Linked DNA regions of Homo sapiens: region 1 is linked to region 2. Evidence: promoter capture Hi-C in 16 types of primary human blood cells and fetal thymus (Javierre and others, 2016). All regions are on one chromosome and are shown on one strand. The core of a region is centred on a gene start or on the middle of the fragment in contact, and the rest is flanking DNA. Distances in the headings are between cores, read along the strand shown.

Evidence for each region. The method cuts DNA at HindIII sites, captures the fragments that hold promoters and counts their contacts. A CHiCAGO score of 5 or more calls a contact.
Region 1: a contact is called between a fragment that was not itself captured here and the fragment with the promoter of POLG in region 2, in 1 of 17 cell types (activated CD4 T cells). The highest score is 5.0, in activated CD4 T cells.

What each region holds. Positions count from the first base shown.
Region 1 is chr15:88,901,396-88,907,065 of GRCh38, reverse strand. It overlaps MFGE8 (milk fat globule EGF and factor V/VIII domain containing), which reads left to right. Exons shown (of 8, transcript NM_005928.4): 4 at 288-440; 5 at 1,165-1,309; 6 at 5,331-5,515. Among named protein-coding and RNA genes, the nearest start is that of HAPLN3, 8.7 kb to the right of the region's middle. RefSeq lists an enhancer at 1-170 and a silencer at 2,032-2,221. The HindIII fragment of the contact is 4,744 bases long and covers 1-3,640 here.
Region 2 is chr15:89,333,574-89,339,510 of GRCh38, reverse strand. POLG (DNA polymerase gamma, catalytic subunit) reads left to right here and starts at 4,687. Exons shown (of 23, transcript NM_002693.3): 1 at 4,687-4,838; 2 at 5,598-5,937. The coding sequence starts at 5,757. POLGARF (POLG alternative reading frame) reads left to right here and starts at 5,702. Exons shown (of 2, transcript NM_001430120.1): 1 at 5,702-5,937. The coding sequence starts at 5,702. It overlaps POLG-DT (POLG divergent transcript), which reads right to left and starts at 5,024. Exons shown (of 2, transcript NR_186332.1): 1 at 4,657-5,024; 2 at 3,350-4,324. It overlaps TRR-TCG1-1 (tRNA-Arg (anticodon TCG) 1-1), which reads right to left and starts at 4,438; the gene lies at 4,366-4,438. RefSeq lists silencers at 2,502-2,671, 4,629-5,228 and enhancers at 3,479-3,528, 3,869-3,938, 3,949-4,048, 4,918-5,419. The HindIII fragment of the contact is 8,583 bases long and covers 448-5,937 here.

The sequences.
Region 1 (5,670 bases), core at 19-2,518, 430 kb after region 2:
GAAGTATCTGTAAGTGGATGGCATCCCTGGAGGAACCTGGTATGGGGTCAAGGTGAGGGGGGAGGAGGCCCCAGGCTGTGGAGGAGCTGTTGGTGCTGGATGAGGCCTCTGGAGGCCTGGGCAGAAGAAGAAAGCCCTTTGTGCGGGCAGTGTGCTCAGCTACCCCTCCTCTGTTTTGCTTGAGTTGTTCCCCCACCCAGTGGGGGAGTGAAGGGATGGGTCTGCTTGGATCTTGAGTGGAAAGAACCCAGGAGATAAGGGTGCCATCTCCCCTGCCCTGTGTCCAGGTGAACCTGCTGCGGAGGATGTGGGTAACAGGTGTGGTGACGCAGGGTGCCAGCCGCTTGGCCAGTCATGAGTACCTGAAGGCCTTCAAGGTGGCCTACAGCCTTAATGGACACGAATTCGATTTCATCCATGATGTTAATAAAAAACACAAGGTAGGTCTTGTTGGGGCCCGAAAGAAGGGCTGTGGTCCATACCCCCTAAGGTTCTAGCATTGACTGAGGACCCCCAGCGAGTCCAGAGAACCCTAGGTGATTGGCTATGATGTGGGTCTTCGGGTGCATCTTGGCTTCTAGAAATTGGGAAACCCAGACTGTGTCCATGTTCTGTGGTTTATAAGCAATAGTCCCACTTTAGAGATGAGACTAGTGAGATTCAAAATGGCACAGTGACCTGTTGAGGGTGATAGTGGTGGTGGAGCTGGGTTTCATTCTGAGCCTTCATGGGTACATGTACAGTTGTGTAGGTTGTACACTGCTCAAGGATGTCATTGCTAAGCAGGCACCATTCACAGTACAGGCATTGTACATTTGTGGAACTCTGTCAGAAAATTGTCATAATAAACTATTTGAGAAAGGAGTGCCTTTTCCTAATTTGCAAAGAGGTACCCTGTAGGTTACAGGTGGCCCTGTGTCAGCTATAGGGGTTTATGCCCAGGCTCCATGATGATTAAGGAAAGTGAGAGGAGAATCTTTGTGGAGGGCCGTGGGGTGGCCAAAGGAGAGGCTGCTGTGTGAGCCTCTGCTGGCTCTTCCAAGTCCTCTTCACCCTCCCAGCCCCACCTCTGCCTCCCAGGTCTGAAGAGGAAGATGAGGTAACCCCAGGGAGGGGGACTGCTCAGATGGACCCCCTTCTCCAGTCTTGTCCCTTCCCTGCTAGGAGTTTGTGGGTAACTGGAACAAAAACGCGGTGCATGTCAACCTGTTTGAGACCCCTGTGGAGGCTCAGTACGTGAGATTGTACCCCACGAGCTGCCACACGGCCTGCACTCTGCGCTTTGAGCTACTGGGCTGTGAGCTGAACGGTGAGTGCTGGGGGTGCGGGTAGGGGGGCACTGTTGGCCAATCCTAGGAGGTGGCCCTCCCTGCTGCCTCTTTTCTCAGCCAAACTGAGCTAGGTAGGGCAGCAACAAGGCACGGGGACCAGGCTTCACTCGGGCAACGCACTCTAGGGGGTCACCTGGCCATAGCAGCCCCACCCAGGTGTTTGCTGTCTGCCAACCCATGACCCAGGGCATTCTGATTGATAGAGAAAAAGACATCAGTTTTCAAAGTATTTTCCCTTCTTCTGGTTGGCTCCTCTCCTGTAGCTTCTAGAACATGTAGCGTTAGGTGTGTTTGGCAGATGTCAGCTTTACGAGGGCAGAGAATCTGTCTGTTTTGTTTGCTTCGGTATTCCCAGGGCCTAGAATGGTGTCTGGTTTATAGGTACTCAATAAATATTTGATGAATGAGCGAATGAATGAATGAGGGGCGTGGGGCCCCGATGAATGATTTATTAAGGGTACACATCTGGTAGGTATTAAGACTTGGTCTAGATCTCTGGGCTCCCGACCACACCCATCCAGAGCTTTCCCTGCCAAACTCTTAAGAGTCTGCACTCCAGAGAAACACAGGGGCTTCTTGGACCACAGGGCTTGGAGCTGGTGCTTCCTGCTGCCTTTTCCAAAGAGATTCCCAGATGAAGAGCTGGGGAGACCATAAAGGGACAGATTTCTGCAGAGCCAGGGGACAGCCTGGGCGAGGTCAGAGTGCCGGGTTTGGGCTGACAGACATTAATTGTCTCAGCCCAGCTCAACCCAGCTTTCCTGAGGTCTGGGTATTTCTCTCTCTTTGCAGCCACAATGCCACCTGCTGGCCATCAGTGGAACTGTAGGGCTCGCTAAGCAGAGCTGCAGAGTGGAGGTTCTTATCTTACCCGCTGGCCTTTTGATCTTACCTGCCCTCCTGTGCCCCGCCTTTCCCCTCTGTGACACCTCTTCCTGTTGTCTCATTTCAGACACCACCCAAATACCCCTCAGAGCTGAGTTCAGTGCCTGGCTGGGTTCAGTGTTTTTAGTATGAACTTGAGTAGGTATGCTTCCTCCACCAGGGGCCCTTTTGAGCCGTATTGTTTCAGTGGGGAGTATAAGACTTTGCCTTCTGCTAGAAGGAAATGTAGGCTACTGGGAAAGGACAGAGCCAGGTCTGTGTGCCTCTCCCTGGAGTCCCTGACACTTGCTGTTTTGGCTTGAAGCCTTTGGCCATTAAAGTTGCCTGTATCCAGGCATGACTGGCCCCTGCTCAGGGCCAAGAGAGGGTGAGTCTTGCAAACCAAGGAAGCCCAGGTACCCTGTCTGCTTCCTTCAGGGTCTGGACCACTCCTTTCCCTATAGGCCTTCCAGTCGGCTGGAGAGTGTTGGTGCATGTGTGCATGTGTGCACGTGTGCATGTGTGTGGGTGGGGCTGAGGTCTGGGGGTACCTGGGATTCCACAAGGGATTCCTCTTTGCAGACATATGGTGTCTTTGGTAAATTAATTATTTAATTCGATGGATGTTTATTAAGATATTGATTAAGCCCCTCCTGGGTGCTTGGCTCTAGGGAATGATTCCTTGACCTCATGTAATTTGCATTGTAGCAAGGAAGGCAGACTTGAGGCGAGGAGCAGATGACAGAGAGCAGTAACAGCTCTGAAGAAAAGCTAGAGGCTGATGAGATGACCATGACTTGGGGTGAGGGGAGAGAGCAAGACAAGGACTGCTCTGTCGGGAAGGCCTTTGACTGGGGGCCTGAATGATGGAGAGCCAGCCACATGAAAAACTTAAAAACAGCACTGCAAAAAGAGCACTGCAGGCAAGGAATTGGTAAATGCAAAGGCCCTGGGGCATGTTGAAGGGTGGAAGGAAGGCCAGTGGAGCTGGAGCCAAGAGATGGAGGGGCAGCTTGGTGGGTGAAGAGCCCCAGGGACCCGCAGTGTCATCACCTAGGAGCTTCTTAGAAATGCAGACTGAGGCCGGGTGCGGTGGCTCACGCCTGTAATCCCAGCACTTTGGGAGGCCGAGGCGAGCGGATCACCTGAGGTCAGGAGATCAAGACCAGCTTGGCCAACATGGCGAAGCCCCGTCTCTACTAAAAAAATACAAAAATTAGCCAGGCGTGGTGGCAGGTGCCTGTAATCCCAGCTACTAGGGAGGCTGAGGCAGGATAATTGCCTGAACCCGGTCAGAAGGTGGAGGTTGCAGTGAGCCGAGATCATGCCACTGCACTCCAGCCTGGGTGACAGAGCGAGACTGTGTCTCAAACAAACAAACAAAAAAACAAAAAAAAAGAAATACAGACTGAAAGCCCCAGCCTAGACTTGCTGAAACATAAGCTTTTTTTTTTTATATCAAGATCCCCAGGTGATCTGTGAGAATTACTCCCCTAGTATCTCATTTTATAGATGGGGAGACTGAGAGCCAGAGAGAGGAAGGGACTTCCTAGAGTGCTGGAGCTGACAGTCCTGTCCCTGCCCTGGTGCCCCTTCCAACTGCATTTTACCAGAAAGGCTGTCTGACTTCCTGGGGAGGCTGAGAGTGAGGAGGGTATGAACCACTAGAAGCAGATGATCTGTAGAGGGGTCTGCGTTGAGCACATTGTGCAGAATTGGTGTCCTCTGCAAAGCTGCCCAGGTTTTAGCCTGCCTCAGGCCTCTCCTCTTCTGGGGCCAAGGGACAACCAGCTCTCAGCCCGGGAGCCTCTCTTTGAGGGGGAAGGTGGTGGTTCCCTGGTGCATCACCATCAGGAGATGATGGTACCATCAGCAGGCATTGTCAACACACCCTGGAGGCAAATGTCTTGAGTGGTGAGAGTACAGGTGGGCAGTGATATAACTTAGCTGGCTCCCAGTACTCTTGAGTGGTGAGAGTATTGGAGGGCAGTGATATAACTTAGCTGGCTCCCAGAGGGCAGGGGGCTCTCCAGTCCCACCGTCCACTCCTGCCTCCCTCAATTCCCCAGAGGGATAGACACTTGTGGAGTGAGGATTCTTCCAGGTGGGAGACACCCCCATCATTCTCTTGGGAGTTGTATCTCTTGCCCATCCCCAACTGTTCTATCCATATGCAGGTGCAGATACAAGTGCAAGGCAGCCCGGCACATTCCTGAGTGTTTGGGGCAGGGCTGAGTGAAACAAAGGCCAGCTTCCCGGGCCAGCCCTCACAGGCCTGTGTGACAGCATCCCCAGAACATTTGAGTGTGCGAAGGCCCTCTGGGAGACACTAAGTCAGGGGGCTTCTGGGGAATGGAAATAGAGATGTTCCTGTGCCCCAGGAGTTGTCTGATTTCTCTAACTGCCAGCTGCTGGAGGGCAGGGATGTTGTCCTGTTCATCACTGGGTCGTCACTAGGCAGGCCTTCATCATCTAGCTGGGATGTGTAGCTGGTAGAGGTGACGTCATAGTGTGACATTAGGAGTTTGTATGTGACTTGAGCATGATGCTTAATGTCTTTCAGTTTTCTCATCTATAGAATGGGCTTACTAATTTCTACTTCATTTAGTGTTTTTTTTTCTTTTTTTTTTTGGTGGCAGGTTAAATGACTGAAGTAAGCACTGAATAAACAATGTGGTTGTTATTAAAGTAGATAGTGACTGTGCCATGGGACGGATGGGAGGCCGAGGCGATGGGGGCAGTGCTGTGAGTCCAGAAGAGGAAGAAATCCTGCCCAAGTGAAGTAGTCAGGGCAGACTTCTTGGAGGAGGTGTCTCCAAAGTCAGGCATTGAAGGAGGGCAGGAGGTGGTGGAGCAGGGGCCTTCCCTGGTGCAGAGGAGAAGGGTGGTGAGTGGGAGGTCTTGGGTGATCTGTGAGGAGCTGAGCCCGGCTGGTTGAGGTGAGGAGGTGGTGGGGTCGGCAGTGAGAAGGTCGCACAGTTGGCCCTGCAAGGCGGATGGAGCTGCTTTCTGTTGCCCAAGAGCATGACAGGGGCTGGTCAGGATCCACAGAGTTCTTTCTGCTTCATCGCCTTGTGCTCCTGCCCCTGGGAGCTGTGGATCCCAGATCCAGATGACAGCCCACCTTGCTGGCAGGATGCGCCAATCCCCTGGGCCTGAAGAATAACAGCATCCCTGACAAGCAGATCACGGCCTCCAGCAGCTACAAGACCTGGGGCTTGCATCTCTTCAGCTGGAACCCCTCCTATGCACGGCTGGACAAGCAGGGCAACTTCAACGCCTGGGTTGCGGGGAGCTACGGTAACGATCAGTGGCTGCAGGTGGGTCAGCCTTCTTGGGATATGGGGCTGGGGTTGGGTGGGATGAGGTGGGACTGCCAGATCTTTGACCTCTCTCCAGCCCAGGCTTCTCTTCTGCTCCCCAAAAGAGTTCTGGAAAAGCCTTGTTTTTCTTCGGCTTTTCTTTCTTCTTCCCA
Region 2 (5,937 bases), core at 3,438-5,937:
ACTACAAAGCATTTTGCAAATCTAAGAATCTCACCTACAGCCTAGCTAGTCTCATCTCAGTGAAATTTAGCTGAAGACTTTTTTCAAAAAGTTCATTCATTTGTTTAGCAAATATTTAATAAGCACTCAATCAGTGAGAGCTCTTTCCACCACAAGTGACAGAAAATCCAGCCCAAACTAGCTAAAGCAAAAAGACGCTCTTGCCATTGGCAATTTCAACATTGACTGGATATTTGATGATATGAAGGCAATGCCGTTAATTTTTTTGGTGGAGTGTCCTGATTGGCTCAACTTAGTTAATAAGCCTTGTCCCTAACTCCCTGAGCCAGGAGCCTTGGTCAGGAGCTAAGGAGGGACAAAATGGGATGGGGACAAGAATGACAGACGTCTGTCTCTGTGTGCCAGACATACAGATGACAGGGCACAGTTTCTTCCCATCAGGAAGCTTCCCAATCCTGAAAAAATTATTTGCATTTCAATCAATTTCTTTTTGACCTGTTCGTAAACTGTGTGGAGTTGATGGAACCAATTATTCCCCCCGAAATATGAAGCATGTTTTGAAAACAGTCTATGGCTATCATCCTGAATTCCACACATAGGTCACAAGGTCACATTCTCATTTTTTTCTTTTTATAAGTTTTATTTATTTTTAATTTTTTTTAGAGATGAAGGTCTTGCTATATTGCCCAGGCTAGACTGGAACTGCTGGGCTCAAGTGATCCTCCCATCTCAGCCTCCTGAGTAGCTGGGAATACAGGTACATACTGCCACACCCAGCCAGTTTTAAAAAAAATTCTTTATCTTTTTTAGAAATGGGGGTCTTGCTGTGTTGGCCAGGTTGGTCTTGAACTCCTGCCTCAAGCTATTTTCCTGCCTTGGCCTCCCAAAGTGCTGGGATTGCAGGCATTAGCCACCATGCTTCACACTTCTTACTTCACACTTCTTACTGGAGTCTATCTTCTCTCATCTGTAAAATGAATAATAACAGCACCTACTTTATGGGGTCATTGAAATGATTAAATAAAATGGTGCTCTAAAGCGTTCAGCCTGGTTCATTTGCAAGTGGTAGCTGTTGATAAAGGAAGAGTGGTGATATTTTCTGTCTGTGGCAGAAATTGCTGGAGTTGGGCTTGGCAAACCTGAGAGAAGACCATGAAAGTCACCAGGAAGTAAGCACACGAGAGGGACTCTGGAGGAGCAGGCTGTCACCTGAGGGCCCCTTACTTAGTCAGCAGCAGTGATGTAGGAGGCCACATCAGTGTGCACGTGCAGCGCCTGGCACACAGTTGTGCAGTAGGGATCCTCTGCTAGCATCATAAAGCCAGTATTTGCCGTGTAGTGCAGTTGCTGAGATCCTGGTTTCCATGAATTCAAATCCCAGCTCTACCAATGACCAGCTATAGGGCTTTAGGCAAGCTGCTTCGCCTCTCTGTGCCTTAGTTTCCTCATGGGTGAAAGGGGATAACGGTACCTCTATCCAAGGGTCGATGTGAGGATTCACTTAAGTGACATATGTGAGCCCTTAGAACAGCACCTGGCAGCTAGCAAGTGCCGGTTATTACCAAGCTCCAGGCAGGTCCTGGAATTGAGCTCAAAATAAGACACAAGGTCAGTCCCTATGGGCATTTACAGCAGTGGAAGGGGGAGATTTTTAAAAAATCATCATTAGTTACAACTGAGGTACATGCTTTGAAAGTACAGGGTGTTCTGGCCCAGCGCAGTGACTCAAGCCTGTAATCCCAGAACTCTGGGAGGCCAAGGCGGGTGGATCACTTGAGGCCAGGAGTTCCAGACCAGCCTGGCCAACATGGTGAAACCAGTCTCTACTAAAAATACAAAAATTAGATCCACATGGTGGCACACACCTGTAATCCCAGCTACTCCGGAGGCTGAGGCACGAGAATCGCTTGAACCTGGGAGGTGGAGGCTGCAGTGAGCTGAGATCACGCCTCTGCACTCCAGCCTGGGCACAGAGCAAGACTCTGTCTCAGAAGAAGAAGAAGAAAAAAAGTACGGAGTGTTTTGATGAGGACAGGGGTCCTAATGAACTTTGCCTCTTGCTCTGTGGGGGGAGAGGTCCAGGGAATTGTGGGAAAATGTAACTGTTTCTCAGGAACCACTATCAAGGACAGACTTTTCTAGAAGGACGTGGGGGAGTTCCTAGAAAAGGAGGCAGGGGAAGTGGAGGAGCTGGGTTCAGAAAGGCCTGGAAACAGGGTGTAGCCTGGCAGGAAGGGTGCAGGCCTCCAGGTACCCTCCCTCAGCAGGAATCAGTATCAACCGTTTTTGTCCTTGTTGAAGATTCTAATTCCAGGACCAGGGCACTAGGCTAGTCTCAAGTAGTCTATGGGAGGAGCAGGCATCTTGATGGACATCTCCTGAGACTGAATCTCAGGAGAGGCCAATCAGGCCCAGCAACAGCAGCCCCTGTGGACAGTTGGGCCAGGGGTTCTTAGCTTTTTTGTGTCATAGACACCTTCTTAGAATAGTGTGTTTCTTTCTTTCTTTTTTTTCTTTTTTTTGTTGTTGTTGTTGTTTTGGTGGGGAGTGGGGAGATGGAGTCTCACTCTGCTGCCCAGACTGGAGTGCCATGGTGCAATCTCGGCTCACTGCAGACTCTGCCCCCCGGGTTCAAGAGGTTCTCCTCCCTCAACCTCCCAAGTAGCTGGGATTACAGGCGTGCACCACCATGCCGGGCTAAGTTTTGTATTTTTTTGGTAGAGATGGGGTTTCGCCATGTTGGCCAGACTGGTCTTCAACTCCTGAGCTCAGGCAATCCATCCACCTCAGCCTCCCAAAGTGCTGGGATTACAGGCGTGAGCCACTGAACCTGGCCTAGAGTAGTGTTTCTGTTTTTAATTTTTTTCTGTGAAATATGTTTTATTAATTTTTATTTCAATAGGGGTACAGGCAGTTTTTGGTTATATGGAAGAATAGTGTTTTTAAGCACATAAAACATGAAGGATTACAAAGGACACCAAAGGTATTCAAATATTAGGACAAATAGGTAAACTTATTAACTAACAGGATCTAGTGGCAGTCTAGTAACCCCTGTTATTTTGAAGTACAGATAAGTGCAAACAAATTTTGAAAAATGTGCAGCACTTGTAATGCGTTATGAAAATATCTGTGGTTGCTGGAGGGGACAAAGTCACAGGCACTGTTAATACCACTGTGGCTGACAGCCTATGCTCATAATTGGAGGAAATGCCAAGTATCAGTAGGCGGTTAGAAGAAACAAGATGAAAATGTTTTCCCCATTCAGGGACTCCCTGATTTAAGCTGAGAGCCTCTCCTTCCAGTATTTTGTAAAAGTCAACAGTTATGTGAAAAAAAAAAAAAAAACAGATGAATTTCTGATTGATTGTATTTTTTTGGCAAAACAAAAAAATCACAAACATTAAAACATTGTGTATATTAAGTACATCTAGAAAAGTGTATGCAAAATATTTCATATTTAAATAGAAGGGACCAGGGCTCAATGCTGCTTGGCCCGGGGCTTCTCTCTACCTCTCCACGTGGCGGGAGCAGGTGAGGGTCGGCATCAGCCCGCAGGGCCGGCGGAGGATTGTTTCCCTGCACCCCACTCCTTAAAAACGCGAAAGTCAACTTCTGTAGTCCGTTCACGGTGTCCTGGGATCCACGCTGGACGGTGGCGGCCGACTTTCAGCTTGACCTGAATTTTATTCCTAATCAGCTGTGTGATCTCGGTTGGTCCCAAACGTCTCTGAGCCTCCCTTTCATCTGTGCAGCTGGGCCTCCAGACCCCAACCCCCAGGCGGTGCTTAATCACGTAGACCTTATTCTGCGTGCACTTTACCACAGTTCACCAACCACCGAGCGCTGAGAGCTGTTGAAGCACCTGGAGCAACACAAGACGGATGCGGAGACTGGAAACAGCTGGGGAAGGGGACAAGCTCCAGCCGCGCTGTGGGCCGGAGGCTAGCATCTGCGGGCAAATTCAGGTTCAACGGAAGGCAACATTTTTACCCCTCAGAATTGCTCTGGACGAGGAGGCAGCACCGGATGGGCGAGGGAGGGAGCCTCGCTTTGGCTGCGAGCCCCAACTCTTGCCAACCATCAATTGAGTATAAATTGAGATTTCTGTACAGGATGCCCCTCCCTCTCCACTTTCCTCCACCTGCGTCGGGGTGCGAGAGACCTGGTACATTTTAGAAATGTGCCTCCGCTGAGACACGTAGGCGGGCAATCTCGCAGGGACTTGCTGGGCGTGGTTACTTCCGCGGATCTTGGCGTTCCCACATCTTTGAAGTGCGGTGGGAATCGGCGGCGACTACGTTCACATTGTCCCAATACTTCGTTCCTGAGGGAGGAATAAACTAAAAGTTAATCATAACCTCCCTTCGACCGCGGCAGGACTCGAACCTGCAATCTTCTGATCCGAAGTCAGACGCCTTATCCATTAGGCCACGCGGCCCGTCGGTTGTTACCGTCTCTTGAGCAACTTATAAAAACGTCACCTCCGCCCACCAGCTAGCTCGGGACCAATCCACCTGCTCCTTGAGAAGGGGAGGTTGGCCTTTGGTTCGCGCGTTCCGCAGGGAGAGCCCACCCAGAAGTCCCCCTTCTCCCCCCGCGGGCGGACCGCTCCATTGGCGGCCCTCCTATTGGTCGCGCTGGGAGTCTCCCGCTTGCCTCTCGGGTAGCCGCGGGACCTAGCTGGGTGCAGACGGGAAGTTGCGGCTGCCAGCGAAGCGGACCGGCCGGGTGGAGGCCACACGCTACCCCGAGGCTGCGTAGGCCGCGCGAAGGGGGACGCCGTGCCGTGGGCCTGGGGTCGGGGGAGCAGCAGACCGGGAAGCACCGTGAGGACCGAGGTTTCCGGCGGGGTCGGCGGCGGGGAGGCCGGGTCGCTGAGCGACGGCGCGGCCCCTCCCTCTCCAGTCAGGGAGCGAGGCCCGGAGCAGGGCGGCGGCTAGTCCCAGGGCGCACCGCGGCGCCTCTGCCGGGCGCAGGCGGGCGGCGGGGCGCACGGGGGTGGCCGCCGACTCCTCCTGCAGGACGCTCTCGGCCGGGTGGGCCGTGGTCCGGGTGTGGGTGTGGGTCCCGGGGGACGGCGGCCCACCCTGCGGGTTCGAATCCGGGCGCTGGCACCTCTCGACGCTAGGCCCGCGCCGGTCGCGGTAATGGCAGCCACCATTTGCCGAGCGCTTGCCAAGAGCAGGGCCGCACGACATAGGCGCCCTGTGTCCCCCAGACAGCAGCCCGGTGTGACAGGCAGAATCCGTAATCCCATTTTACAGAATAGGATATCAGGGCCTAAGGAGCTTTGCCCAAGGTCACACAGCTCGAGAGAGCCAGAAGCGGGGTTCAAAACCGCGTCGCCCTACTCCAGATACTGCTCTCTTACTCGCTGCCCTCGGCTTCCCCACGTGGGTTCACTGACGAAGTTGCGTGGACCCCGGTTCCCCCAGGAGGGGTATTGACGTTTCCCAAGTTTTGAGGCTTAACGGAAAATGCAACTGAAGCGCCTGGCACAGTGTTGGGGACGCAGTAAATGCTCAAGGAATGATGATTATGGATACACCTATTACATATATGGTAAAATAACGCTTTATATCATCTGTCTCCTTTAGGATTTGGGGTGGAAGGCAGGCATGGTCAAACCCATTTCACTGACAGGAGAGCAGAGACAGGACGTGTCTCTCTCCACGTCTTCCAGCCAGTAAAAGAAGCCAAGCTGGAGCCCAAAGCCAGGTGTTCTGACTCCCAGCGTGGGGGTCCCTGCACCAACCATGAGCCGCCTGCTCTGGAGGAAGGTGGCCGGCGCCACCGTCGGGCCAGGGCCGGTTCCAGCTCCGGGGCGCTGGGTCTCCAGCTCCGTCCCCGCGTCCGACCCCAGCGACGGGCAGCGGCGGCGGCAGCAGCAGCAGCAGCAGCAGCAGCAGCAGCAACAGCAGCCTCAGCAGCCGCAAG